Regions from separate parts of the Homo sapiens genome. Here region 1 is linked to region 2. Evidence: promoter capture Hi-C in 16 types of primary human blood cells and fetal thymus (Javierre and others, 2016). All regions are on one chromosome and are shown on one strand. The core of a region is centred on a gene start or on the middle of the fragment in contact, and the rest is flanking DNA. Distances in the headings are between cores, read along the strand shown.

Region 1 (6,117 bases), core at 2,836-5,335, 2.1 Mb after region 2:
GCTGGGATGACAGGCATGAGCCACCTGCCTGGCCTGTAGTGGTTAGTCCTTCAGACTGATTTGTTAATGCCTCTCTTGCAACTATGTCTGGATTTCACACAGGATCAAGTCATTCTACTTCTCCCCTTAGCAGTCTAAACCTATTTTGCTGCCAGATCACTCTCAAGCTTGAACACATCTACTATCTCAATGTTCTTTGTTCAAAACTAAGTTCAAAACAAAACTTTGTTCTTGCGTAGCAACTTCTCAACCTTACATTTGAAGTGTTGCAAATTTTTCAACTATTACTGATTCTATGCTATCCCTAAGCTGCAGCCAAATCTATCACAGCCCCAAGTCTTGCTCTATTTGGGACGCCTGGTCCCTCCTCTCCCAGTCACCCACATCCAACTCCAAATGACTCACATTGGATCTGAACCCCAGAATACCCGACCGCACTTTTCCCTTACTTTATTTCCCTTTCCATTGATCCCTTGTCCAACCTTTCCCTACAGAATGATTCTTAGGAGCTAAGACCTCATCTCTTCATCCCCTTTTAAACTATCATATATGCAAATACATTCAACAGAATCCATTTCTGATTACCTATTTGTAAAAGCATTGTCATCTTTCACTGTACAAGCACAGTACCCAGCTACTCTACAGGGCAATTAGCTGTGGGCCTGTCTAGAAGCCCAGCGGCCAAAACTGAGGGTGCTTCCCCACAGAAATAACTAGCTGGGGAGGTAGGTCAAATAAACAAAACATTTAGAAACAAAGGACCAGAGCTCAAAAGGATCTGCCAGCTTCTGTGACCTTGGGATAGGTTACTTCTGCTACCTAATTTCTTCCTAAACAAATACTAATACTTATTTACCCTACAGAACAGAAAAAGATAAAATGGAAAATATTTAATATATAAAGCCACCTTAAAAGAATAACTCTGCTCTTAGAACAACCTTCTTTCCTAGAACAATCTGTTTTAAAGTAGAAACTTACTGAGAACTTCAGTACAGGAACAGCCAGATGGGAGCGCCACGTAGCTTTTTTGGGGTCAAATTGCAATTACTCTTTTACTTCCATTTGTACTCTATATAAACATTTCATCCTCAAACAAAACATACATTTAAATCTTCTAACCAGGATCTAGGTGTTTTTCATCCAGTAGAGGGAAACATTTCTCACCTATTAACTAGAGAGGTGGGCTCAAGCTGGTTTTCTAGACTGTCCTGGGAAGTCTGGCAATGCAATTTCAACAGAGTGAAGGCAAATTCATAGAGAAACAATAGAATCTCCAGGAAAGCTAACAGAGTTTATTCTGTAATAATCATGTAATAGATAAAGCCTCAACTACACACAATCACAGAAATGAAAATTCTGAAGAGCTAAACCAGATGTTAAAATTGGCTGTGCATTTCACTTAAGGAGAATTCTAGAGTCTTCCCTCAGATCATATCCTCTAACAAGATGACTCACTCTCTTCAATTCTCAACCTACAGGTTATCAGATTTACAAAGTTTTATACAATGGATTTTTCTAATACATTCTCCAAAACTTGCTCCCTACTTCACCTTACCTAATGACACGGGTCTCTTGACTCAACTAGAGGCTATGAATTTAGTATTTATTTCAGTAGAAATAATATCCAAGCATAAAAATAATCATTTATTTTTATTGCTAAAGTAATTCCTAAAGCTTCTATCAGTCTTTGCTTTACCATAAGCACAATAGAGATCATCATTTCAATTTCCATCACTCATATTTTCCCCTAGAGTCTAGTATTTTTACAAAGCCTGAATTCCAAGTTCACATTATGGCAACACTTCAGTCACCACTTTCAGATAGGCTTCCAAACTTAGCCTCACAAAAATCTCACTCACTCAACAAACAGAGCCCAACATCAGGAGTAAGGACTGGACCCTGAATCCTGACTCTACCACTTCCTAATTGTGTCATTTGGGAAGGTACTTATGCTCTGCAACTGTCTCCTCACCTATAAAATGGGAGTAACTTCACTACCTCCCAGTGTTAAAAGGATTAAATGTATAACAAGTTTTCTTCTGGCAGCGCCTGGCACATTGTAAGCACTCAATTAAGAATATCATTACACAATATTGAGGAAACCAGACAAGATCCTTGATCTATCTTGATCCCTTTTGGCTATCATTTCTTTTATATTTAAAGTTTACTACTTTGCCTCAACATGGCCCCTTTCCGCTAAGGCTTTATCTTTTTTACAGAACACACTTAATGCTTGTTGACTTGTTCATTTTGTAAAAGTTAATAACCTTTCCCTTTGCAGTTTCTAGCTCTCCTAAGCAGACCCATCTCAAAGGCTGGGGCCGTATTTCTCTGCACACTCGTTTGGGATTCAAGTCTAATACGTAAAGGTTATGAGTGAGCACAGAGCAACCCATTTAAAGGGCTTGGTTTCTTTTCAAAAAAAAATAAAGGCAAAACAAGGGTTTGAAGGGCAAATTTCGAGAACTTTTCGTTAACATAACAAGAACTAAGCCACTGAGTGTATTCTGTGTCATATTCATCACAACTACAGGGACTAGCAGTAAGGAAGCCATTAAATTCCCATCTCCAGCCTTAGCCTAGTATTTTATACACGGTTGGTTATGAAAGCAGAACTCAGAATGTTAATTTTTTTCACCTATGTAATTTATCTTAAGAGTGGCAATACCAAAAGGCTACTATTGCCCTAAGCAAACTTCAACAGTTAGCCATTTTAAATAAATACTACTGAATTAAGTAAAAATCGCTCTCCAGGGAAACCCCAAGGGTCTCATTCTCAGCCCAATGCAGATGGGTAAATTATCCAAGAACGACTGCTCTGAGAACGAGAAAGGCTACTCCTTTCCAGATGTCAAGCCAGACAGCAAAGAACCCTTTATACATAAGCTGAGAGCTGGAGATTACTGTCTGAAAATGGCAGCTTTGCCCATCTCTAGTCCATCGTCTCCCTTTTGGCATTATTCCACATTTTTCACTAACCATTTTTCTGCAGTCAGAAAACTTTAAGAAGGGAAGGCCGTTTTAAAAATGAGGCATAATTATGCCAACAGCTTGCGGGTTCATGGACCCACAAGAATTGCCAAGACTAGACTCAATTCCAAGCACGAGGACTGTCTGTTACTCCACAAACATGCTTAGATCGAATCCGAGACCGCAAACGGCTGTAACATGGAAGGAAAATATGTAAAAGAGGCACAAGGGCTCTGCTGCAACACTCACGCCATTTCCACCCTCCTCTCGCTGAGCACTCGAGGTTTATCCGGCTTTCAACTCAATTCGCACGTTAAGATGGTGACTCCCGCTAGGCGAGACTTACGCGGCCCGGGACCTTCCCGGGGACCAGGCGCCTTCTCGAGTGCCCAGATGGAGAAACTGGGGCTGGGCGAGCCCCCTTTGTCTCATCTATCAGCCCAGAGAAAGGAAGGAAGAAGTGAGGGAGGAAAGGAGTGAGGGAGGAAAGGAGGGAGGGAGGAAGGGGGCTAATCCCTCCCAGCCCCGCAGCCTGCGCAGGGGCGGGGAGCGAGGGGAAGCACCCGGGCCCTAGACCCCGGCGCCCCGGAGGGCAGCGTGCGGCGCCGGGCGCCCTACCTCGTCCTCCTGCTCGCTCCGGAAGCACAGGCACGCCGCCCGCTTCTTGAAGCCCTCGCGGTCGTAGGTCCGCGTCTGGTTGGGCTTGAACTTCATCATAGAGGCGGGCTCCTGCTGCTGCTGCTGCTGCTCCGGCCGCCGCCGTGGGGGCCCGGCCGCCGCCACCCCGCCGGGGAGTGGGGGCGAGGGCGAGTCGGGCGCAGGAGCGCCCGGGAGCGCTAGTCGGTGCGGGAGGTGCGGCGAGGCCGGTCAGTCCCGGGGCCGGCGGCCGCTCCGACGCGGGCGGGACGGGACGCTAGCGCGGGTCACTGGAACCAGGGTGCCGAGATGAAAGCTCCGCCTCTGCCCAGTTGTCCGCCGCTCTCCATGGAGCCCGACTCCCGCTCGCCTCCGCTCCCTCCGGCCGTAGCCGCCAGGGGAAGGGCGGCTAGAGGCGCGCGCCACGCGGAGACAGTTGCGAAGACCCGCTCCCACTGAGCAGCAGCACCGCGGCGACCGCGCGCCGCCCCCTCTGCTCTGTTTAAATGAAGCCCACATGCGCCCCGCCTCCCCCGCGCGCCACTGCGCCTGCGTGCAGAGACCATTGCAATGGGGTGGGTGGGTAGGTGTGGCGGGGGAGGTAGGGGCGGGACCTCGGCCGCCCGGTGGGCGGGGCCGCGCGCACTCCCGGGCTGGAGTTCGGCGAGGCCTTGGGACTGGCGCTGGAGCCCAGCGTGGGATGACCGTGCCCCGAAAACATGCCAGTGAATGGAAAGAAGCCAAGGTCCCCTCCCTCCCTGCTTATACCCTCAACTTTGCCAATGAGGACCCTAAATACCAGCTGCACTACAGGGGATGTAACTACATACACCGTCACCAAAGTTGCAGCCTGGCCAAGAAATGCCAGGGGACGTCGCGGCGATTGCAGACTCCGCGGTGACTGTGTAGATACGTCCAGAATTCGCCCTTGTAGCGCGGGGAGAGGCGAGAGTGAAGGCCTAGAAAAGTTAAGACGTTAACTGTTTTTTTTTTCTTTGTTTTCACAAATGGGGGGTAGGCAAATTTCCTTTTTTTTTTTTTGTATTTAAATTTTTAATCTTTGGTTGGGGATGGCTTGTATTATTTAAAGAGTCAACTCTAGCTTAAACGTTTCTTTGAAGCTGTCTATAACATCCCCCACTTTGTGCCACCTTCCGGAAAGTATTAATACTGGCAATGGCTAATAGTTGCGAAATGGTTTTCATGTGGATCTCATGCTAAGTAACAGCGCAGCTGGATGCTGGGGCCACAGCACTAAAATATAATGGGATTTCTGCTATCTGGGAGCTTACAGTACCTTGGGGACTTGGAACAAACAACCTCTACACTTCAGAGTGTTAGAAGGGCTAAGATAGGAGCCAGGAGGCCTGATCTTAAGGTAGCTCGAGAAACCCAAACTCAGGCCATTCTGCCCTTCCACAGAGGCCCAGGTTGCTTGGGTCCTGACTTGGTTGGTTGGTTTTTCACCCCTTGAGGGCCTATTGTGTGTCAGGCACTGGCATCTAACAAAACCAGTCAGCCCCTGCCTCTCCAGGAGCGTAGGCACCTGAGAGCACACCGTCAAATATTAAATGATCACACGTGTACACGTAAAACTACAAATGTAATGGGCTCTAAGGTTTCAGACAAAGATTTGACCAGATCTGCAGTCAGAAAAAGATTATTGGGGCAGCAAGGCAGGAGCTGAGGGCTGAAGGAGGAGGAGCTAAATTGACCAAGAGCTTTCAAGGCAAAGGGAACTGGGATTTCTGCAGAGCCCAAAGTGGGAGGGAGTGAGGAGAGTTCTCAGAAATGAAAGAAAAGGCCAGTGTGGCTGCAGAGCGGAGGCAAGCTGGTTCCGCCTCTGGCAGAGGGGCCTGTGAGGCCTGACTGAGAGGCTGGGGACCACTGGAGAGCTCAGAGCAGGCACTGGTCTTTCTAGTCTCCAACCTCCTTTAGATTTGGGACTGCTGCATCTAACTCATCTTGTTACTCCCAGAGCCCAGCAGATGTAAGTTTGTAGAATGGGTTAGTGTTGAATAAATAATTTAAGGAATGAGGCTTCACCACAATTAGAAATCTTATCAAGACTGCGCAGAGATGTTTTCCAAGCCATTGATTTCTTATTGAAGGCACTTGAAATTTAACTATGTCCAGGATTTACAAACACAGGCAGAAAACATCTAGCTGGGGAGTCCGCTATGGCTAATATGTGATTATTATTTTTGGATAATTGGTTCACATCAATAAAGTTATTAATCCTGGCTTGGTTGCACAGGCTAGAGTGCAATGGTGCTGTTTCAGCTCACTGCAGCCTCCATTTCCCAGGCTCAAGGGATTCTCCGGCCTCAGCCTCCTGAGTACCTGTAACCACCACAGTTGCATGCCACCATGCCTGGTTAATTTGTGGATTTTTTTAGTAGAGGTGGAGTTTCACCATGTTGCCCAGGCTGGTCTCGAACTCCTGAGCTCAGGCGATCTGCCCACCTCAGCCTCCCAACGTGCTGGGATTACAGGCGTGAGCCACTGCAC
Region 2 (6,892 bases), core at 1,966-4,465:
GTAATCCCAGCACCTTGGGAGGCTGAGGTGGGCAGATTACTTGAGGTCAGGAGTTCAAGACCAACCTGGCAAAACCCCATTTCTACTAAAGATACAAAAAAATTAGTTGGGCATGGTGGCAGGCGCCTGTAATCCCAGCTACTCGGGAGGCTGAGGCAGGAGAATTGCTTGAGCTCGGGAGGTCGCAGTGATCCGAGATCACGCCACTGCACTCCAGCCTGTGCGACAGAGCGAGACTCGGTCTCAAAAAGAAAAAAAAAAATAGAGAGTAAAAGGAACAAACGTGCAGTCAGGCACTAGGTTTGAAATTCTGGCTCTATTCTACACATATTAGCTATGTCACTTTGGGTAAATCATGTAACTACCACTTCCCTATCTGTAAAATGAGATGGCTGGGTAAAGCCATGAAGGGCTGGGTAAAGTCAAAATAAATAGGAAAAGACAGTCCATTACCAAAAAACAAAATGGATATCTAAGCACAAGTAGGTTACTTTGCTTGGTTTTGTGAGGTTAAAATGTGAATGTATGTGAAAATAACCTAGGAAAGTATCTAGTACATAGTAGTTCTTCAGTAAGTATTAGTTAAATAAACAACCCCTCAATCTTATTAATACTCACTACTTTGCCTTCTACCAAGTATATTTTTAAACTCTGAGATCTGTCCTATCTGAACAGCTAATTAACACATTGAACTTTTTCAAGACTTGCTAATAAATACCTTTTCCTTTTTAATCTGTGACATTAATTGAGGTAACAAGTGAAATGTCAGAGAAAACACTATACGAGTAAATAAATTTTGATTAAGGAATATCACATTTTCTAGCTTTTCTTTCTTTCTTTCTTTCTTTCTTTTTTTTGAGACAGTCTTACTCTGCTGGCCAGGCTGGAGTGCAGTGGTGCAATCTCAGCTCACTGCAACCTCCATCTCTCGGGCTCAAGCAATTCTCCTGCCTCAGCTTCCCAAGTTGTTGGGATTACAGGTGTGTGCTACCACACCCGGCTAAATTTTTTTTTGTCTTTTTAGAAGAGATGGGGTTTCAACATGTTGGCCAGGCTGGTCTCGAACTACTGACCTTATGTAATCCACCCGCCTCGACCTCCCAAAGTGCTGGGATTACAGGTGTGTGCCACCACACCCGGCTACATTTTCTAGCTTTTCTAACCACAAAGATCAAATTAACCATTTACCTTCATCATCTTCATCTCTTTCTTTATCTTCCAATGCTGATCTTTCCAACTGTCTTGCTACTTCATCCACTGAGGCTCCTGATTCTTTATCAGGTTCCTGTTCCCCTGCTGATCAAAATAAAATAGCAGAAATCAAATCTAATACAGACACTTTCCCACTAGAATATGCTCTAATGATCTTGGAAAACTTACAAATCCTTTCCTCAGGAAACAAAAACAGAAACATTATTGTGAACATAACAGAATTCGTTTAATGACAGAAAAATCTTCCATACCTACACAGTATTGTCCATTCATTAATTTACTCAACAAAATATCCATTACACACACTAGCAGCTAAAAGATAAACAGCGTGAACTGGTCTCTATCCTCAAGTAGTTTAACTTGTAATAGTGGTCAGCAATTAGACTTAACAAATACTTAAACACCAGATAGGTAATAAATGCTGAAGGCCTTAGGAAAAAGATTCATGTGCAACACCCCGGGGCAGCCTGGTTTCATGAATAAGGATATCACGATGGGCTGGGTAAAGTCAAAATAAATAGGCAAAGACAGTCCATTACTAAAAAACTAAAACGCTCAAATATCTAAGCACAAGACCAGGCCCCTGCTCTGGAAGTGATTATAACCTACCTATAAGAGCAATATGTTACATGCATTAATAGTATCAGGTAGCACGAAATGAAGTGACATTCTGGCTACTGGAGAGAATTCATATTAAGAAATACAACTGTTAAAAATACATTAGGATCAGTCAGCTTAACACCTTACAAGACAAACAGCAGTGTTTGAATTTCACTCGAAATCCAGGAACAGCCACCAGAGTAACAAATTTTGCTCTGGAAGAGTTCCAGCAACGCTACAACTCTCCTTCCATTCCTATCTAATCAAAATTTCAGAAAGATGAAGATTAGCTCTCTTCGACCTCTCTCAATTCCATCTTAATCGCTTCTGACTTCTCCATTTTCTGTTTCTCTGGCGATTTTAATTAGAAACAAGTAAAAATAATTTTTATTAAGGTGAAGGAGCTTGTGCAGCAAAAACACAGACTTCTCAAAATATGTAAGTTCCTAGTTCATAATATCCAACTGTAAACTCTCAGCAGTTCTCCTTGCCTTACCAGTGGATTTAGAGGTTAAGACCTCAGAAGTTCCATTCTGAGCCACAGAATATCCTATCTGCACTGCCTGCAATTGGTATCATAATTCAGGTCTAAAGGCCCTAAAGCTTGGCGATGCTATGGGATTAGGCAGGTGAAAATTCGTTATCACCACCACAAATTCTGCAATTAATGACATGAGCGCGCGGGCAAACACACATGTACACACACCCCAAAAGTGCAGGCTGCAACAACCCCAACGTGAAACGGGATAGTGGGAGGAGGTGTGCTCTCCATTACATTTGCCCACCCCCAAAGAAAATAAGTCCTAGCTTGCTCCAGCAAACCAGCAAAGACGCGGCAATACGGATCAGAATCGGATTTTTGAGGCGGCGGCCAAATCGCGCGAAAGATGGTAGGGCTGTGCTCTGCGCACAATCTCAAGACCGTGCCACGATGTGCGTGGGAGCTGAGTTCTGGTAATACAGGGGCTCGGGCCCAGCGACCCCAGAGGTACCACACGCCAACCTCAGGCACTCTTTTCTCCCCCACCAGCCCTCTAGTCCCACAGGAGGAGATGACGCCTCTTCTCAGACTAGGAATCTATAGCCCGGCTTTGCCACCCTGTCAGGCCCAAGAATCAGTCTAGTCGGGGCTCTGGGGCCCCGGTCCCGGCCCCCTCAACGGGCCTGAGCCAAACAGTTCAGCCGTTCCCGGAGGGGACTGGGAAAACATAAAACTCTCTTTACCTGCAGAAGGCCCTTTGCTCTTCTTCTTCTTTCGTCTTTTTTTCTTGGCTGCTTCCTCAGCCGTAGAGGCAGCTCCTTCTTCCCTGTCGTCTGGATCCAGGTCGCCATTCAGGTGGCTCCCGGAGGCCGCTACCTCCTCCACACCCGCCATGTTGCCCGAGAGAGCGCGAGGGAATGAGACAGAGCGGCGAGGGCCCCGATCCTTCTCCACCCGCCTACACCAGCCACGCCGGAAGCTGCTCTCGATGGTAGGGACGCAGGGAATGCTGGGACGGCGGAGGACTCAGCTGAGGGTGTCGGGCTAGCTTCGGGCCGGGCGTGCAGGAGTCTCGGCTTGGAGCCCCGCCTGGCTGGAGTCGACTGGGGCCAGACCCGACTGCTTCGTCCGGTGCCTCGGGCATTCCCGAAGCAAATCGGCAAGCGCAGGGTGAAGTTTAAAGGGGAAGTTGAGCTCTAGAGTCAGCCGGAGATACCTGTGGAGACGGGCAACCCGCCGTAGCAAGCGGCGTCTCTGCTGGAACGGAAATATTTTATATTTGCGTTTTTATAAATCACACAGGCAGTGGGGAAACGGGCTAAGAAATGTGTTCACTTGTACACATTTCTATTGTCATGACTCCACATATCTCTTAAATCTAAGAGATTTAATCAAATCTGCGTTGACATTCACAATCACAGCTCTCCGCGAGGCTCTGTAGGCACTGGAGAGAATTTTGGAAGCTGGAGTTCCGTGTTAGTTTATTGTACTACTCAACCCCGGACGGTTCAAGATGGGAACCCGTCACACTCCGCTCACTTTCCAATTCAGGACAAGAATGACAGGTTTTAACACACGGGGACACGGTCTCTCTCATTAATGCAAAAGATCACACTCCGTTTTCTCTATTTCTGGTCACCTTTCTTTTGGATTTAGGACGTTTCACCAGAAACTAATTGAATTTTGCCCATTTCTTTACTTCTTATGTTTTGAGCCTCATGTTCAAACCGCAGTTTGAGATTTAGTTTGTGGCGTAAGTGGATTGTGATTGGCTGCCTGCACCAACTCCTTCTCAATTTCTCCTGAATATGGCTTTGTCCACCTGGAGAGTTTAGGTGTTTTCATTAGTTTTAAACTAGGCACCAAGCTTCATGGGCATCAAAATGTCGTTAAGAGCCTTATTGCCAGTGAGTTTACAGTAAACCTCACACAGGCTCTGACTGCAGCTGCATAAATGTACATTCTCTGTCTTAAAGCTTCAGGCAGCACCTATCCAATAGTAATAAAAACTGTTCCTCTTATTCTTGTACAGATCTTTATCTCTTTAAATCTATCCCTATTTAGATTTTAAATTGTTTTCCCTAGTTGATTGCTGGCAATATAAAAGTTGGTAAACCGGCCGGGCGCTGTGGCTCACGCCTGTAATCCCAGCACTTTGGGAGGGCGAGGTGGGCAGATCACAAGGTCAGGAGTTCGAGACCAGCCTGGCCAATATGGTGAAACCCCGTCTCCACTAAAAATACAAAAATTAGCCGGGCGTGGTGGCAGGCGCCTGTAGTCCCAGCTACTAGGGAGGCTGAGGCAGGACAATCGCTTGAACCCCGGGGGAGGTTGCAGTGAGCTGAGATTGCGCCACTGCACTCCAGCCTGGGCGACAGAGCGAGACTCCATCCCCCCCAAAAAAGTAAATAAAATAAAAAATAAAAAGTTGGTAAACCAAACATAATACCACAAAAATAAAAATAGAAGTAGCTTCCATGTGTCCAAAATCCTTTAAAATGCCCGGCAAGACCCAGCCATATCTACTTCTCCAATGTCTCCACTCTCTTACTATTATAGCTCCAGCTCTCAAAGCTCTTTCTGACCTTGGAGCATTTCAAACTCACTGTTACTTTTATCTGGGCTGCTCTTTGCTTGGCTGACATATTCACTTATTCACTCATCCATCCATTCGTTCAATGCCTACTATAAACCTAGATCTGGCAATATTTAGAGAGCAAAAACAGAGATGATCCTTGTCATCATAGAGCCAGTTAACAAAAATAGACATCAAGCAATGATGCTAATAAAAGCAAATTTACAACTGCTGCTATGAGAGCATATTACAAAGGGACTTGCCTAGGTAGGATGGCCTGGTAGAGTTTCCTGAGGAAGTAGCAATTAGGCTGAGATCTGAAGGATAAATAGGCAAAGGGGAGGGGAAAGGTTTAGAGAGAGTATTTTTTTTTTTTTGAGACGGAGTCTCGTTCTATCACCCAGGTTGGAGTGCAGTGGCCTGATCTTAGCTCACTGCAACCTCCGCCTCCCAGGTTCAAGCGATTCTCCTACCTCAGCCTCCCAAGTAGCTGGGATTACAGGCGCCCACCACCACACCCAGCTAATTTTTGTAGAGACGGGGTTTTACCATGTTGGCCAGGCTGGTCTCAAACTCCTGACCTCAGGTGATCCACCTGCCTCAACCTCCCAAAGTGTTGGGATTACAGGCATGAGCCATTGCGCCTGGCAGAGTATTCTTGGCAAAGGGAAGGTAAAGAAAAATTTAAGAGGTATTTAAGAGGAGACATGGATTCTAATACTAGAATGGTCATTTGGCTATAATTTTGTGACTCTGGACAGCCCATATATTTTTGAGCCTTGATTTTCTCATCTGTAAAACAGTAGGGAGTATAACACATTTAAAGAACTAAAAAACATCCAGAATGGCTGGAATGCAAAGAGGTGGAGAAGGGAGTGAGTGTGATGAGATGAGACTAGAAAGGTAAGAGCCTTGCAGGAAGGAAAGGGTAGGAGAGCTGACAGAGCCTTTTAGATCATACTAAGGGCTTTATACTTTGTCCTAAGAACAATATAAAACTCTTAAGTATTTTATTTTACTTTTTTTATTTATTTTTCAGACAGGGTCTCATTCTGTTGCTCAGGCTGGAATGCAGTGGCGTGATGTCAGCTCACTGCAACCTCTACCTCCTGGGTTCAAGCAATTATCCCACCTCAGTCTCCCAAGTAGCTGGGACTACAGGCACATGCCACCACACCCAGCTAATTTTTGTATATTTTGGTAGAGACAGGGTTTCACCATGTTGGTCAGGCTGGTCTCAAACTCCTGACTTCAGGTGATCCACCTACCTCCCTTAAGTATTTTATTTTTATTTTTTATTTTTTTCTGAGATGGAGTCTTGCTCTGTCGCCCAGGCTGGAGTGCAGTGGTATGATCTCGGCTCACTGCAACCTCCGCCTCCCGGATTCAAGCAATTCTTCCACCTCAGCCTCCCGAGTAGCTGGGACTACAGGTACGCGCCACCACACCCAGTTAATTTTTGTATTTTTAGTAGAGACGGGGTTTCACCATGTTGGCCAGGCTGGTCTCAAACTCCTGGCCTCAGGTGATCCGCCCTCCTCAGCCTCCCAAAGTGCTGGGATTATAGGCATGAGCCACTGTGTCCAGCCCCCTTAAGTATTTTAATGGTGAGGAGACAGTTAACCTGATGAGAGTTGCAATTAACATGATTAGATTTTTGAAAAGATCACCATGGCTGCAGTGTACAGAGTAGAGTTGAGGGTGGCCAGAATGAAAGCAGGGAGATCAGTTTAGAGGCTATTACAGTCAATAGGTTATAGTGGCTTGAAAGGGAATGATGATGGGTATGACCAAAAAAATGAATAGATTTAAGAGATATGTGGGAGATAAAATGGGCAAGACTTGGTGATGAATTGTATAAGGGATTTGAGAGAGAAGAAGATATCAAGGAATCCCCTTCGGTGTGTGCTGGTGAAACTGGATTGACTGGTAATGTAATGTAAATAACAGAGATAGAAAAACATTTCAGATTTGAAAGGGAAGATTATGAGTTAGATGTGAGACATGCTGAGTCTGAGGTGTCT

Evidence for each region. The method cuts DNA at HindIII sites, captures the fragments that hold promoters and counts their contacts. A CHiCAGO score of 5 or more calls a contact.
Region 1: the fragment with the promoter of NUDT4 here is called in contact with the fragment with the promoter of METAP2 in region 2 in 2 of 17 cell types (non-activated CD4 T cells and total CD8 T cells); the score reaches 8.6 in non-activated CD4 T cells.

Annotation. Positions count from the first base shown.
Region 1 is chr12:93,375,893-93,382,009 of GRCh38, reverse strand. It overlaps NUDT4 (nudix hydrolase 4), which reads right to left and starts at 4,085. Exons shown (of 5, transcript NM_019094.6): 1 at 3,589-4,085. The coding sequence starts at 3,687. LOC643339 (a long non-coding RNA gene) reads left to right here and starts at 4,274. Exons shown (of 5, transcript NR_040096.1): 1 at 4,274-4,573. RefSeq lists silencers at 3,454-3,753, 3,974-4,313 and an enhancer at 3,550-4,489. The HindIII fragment of the contact is 6,665 bases long and covers 1,677-6,117 here.
Region 2 is chr12:95,470,475-95,477,366 of GRCh38, reverse strand. METAP2 (methionyl aminopeptidase 2) reads right to left here and starts at 3,215. Exons shown (of 11, transcript NM_006838.4): 1 at 3,037-3,215; 2 at 1,189-1,296. The coding sequence starts at 3,187. RefSeq lists an enhancer at 2,999-3,398. The HindIII fragment of the contact is 1,745 bases long and covers 2,418-4,162 here.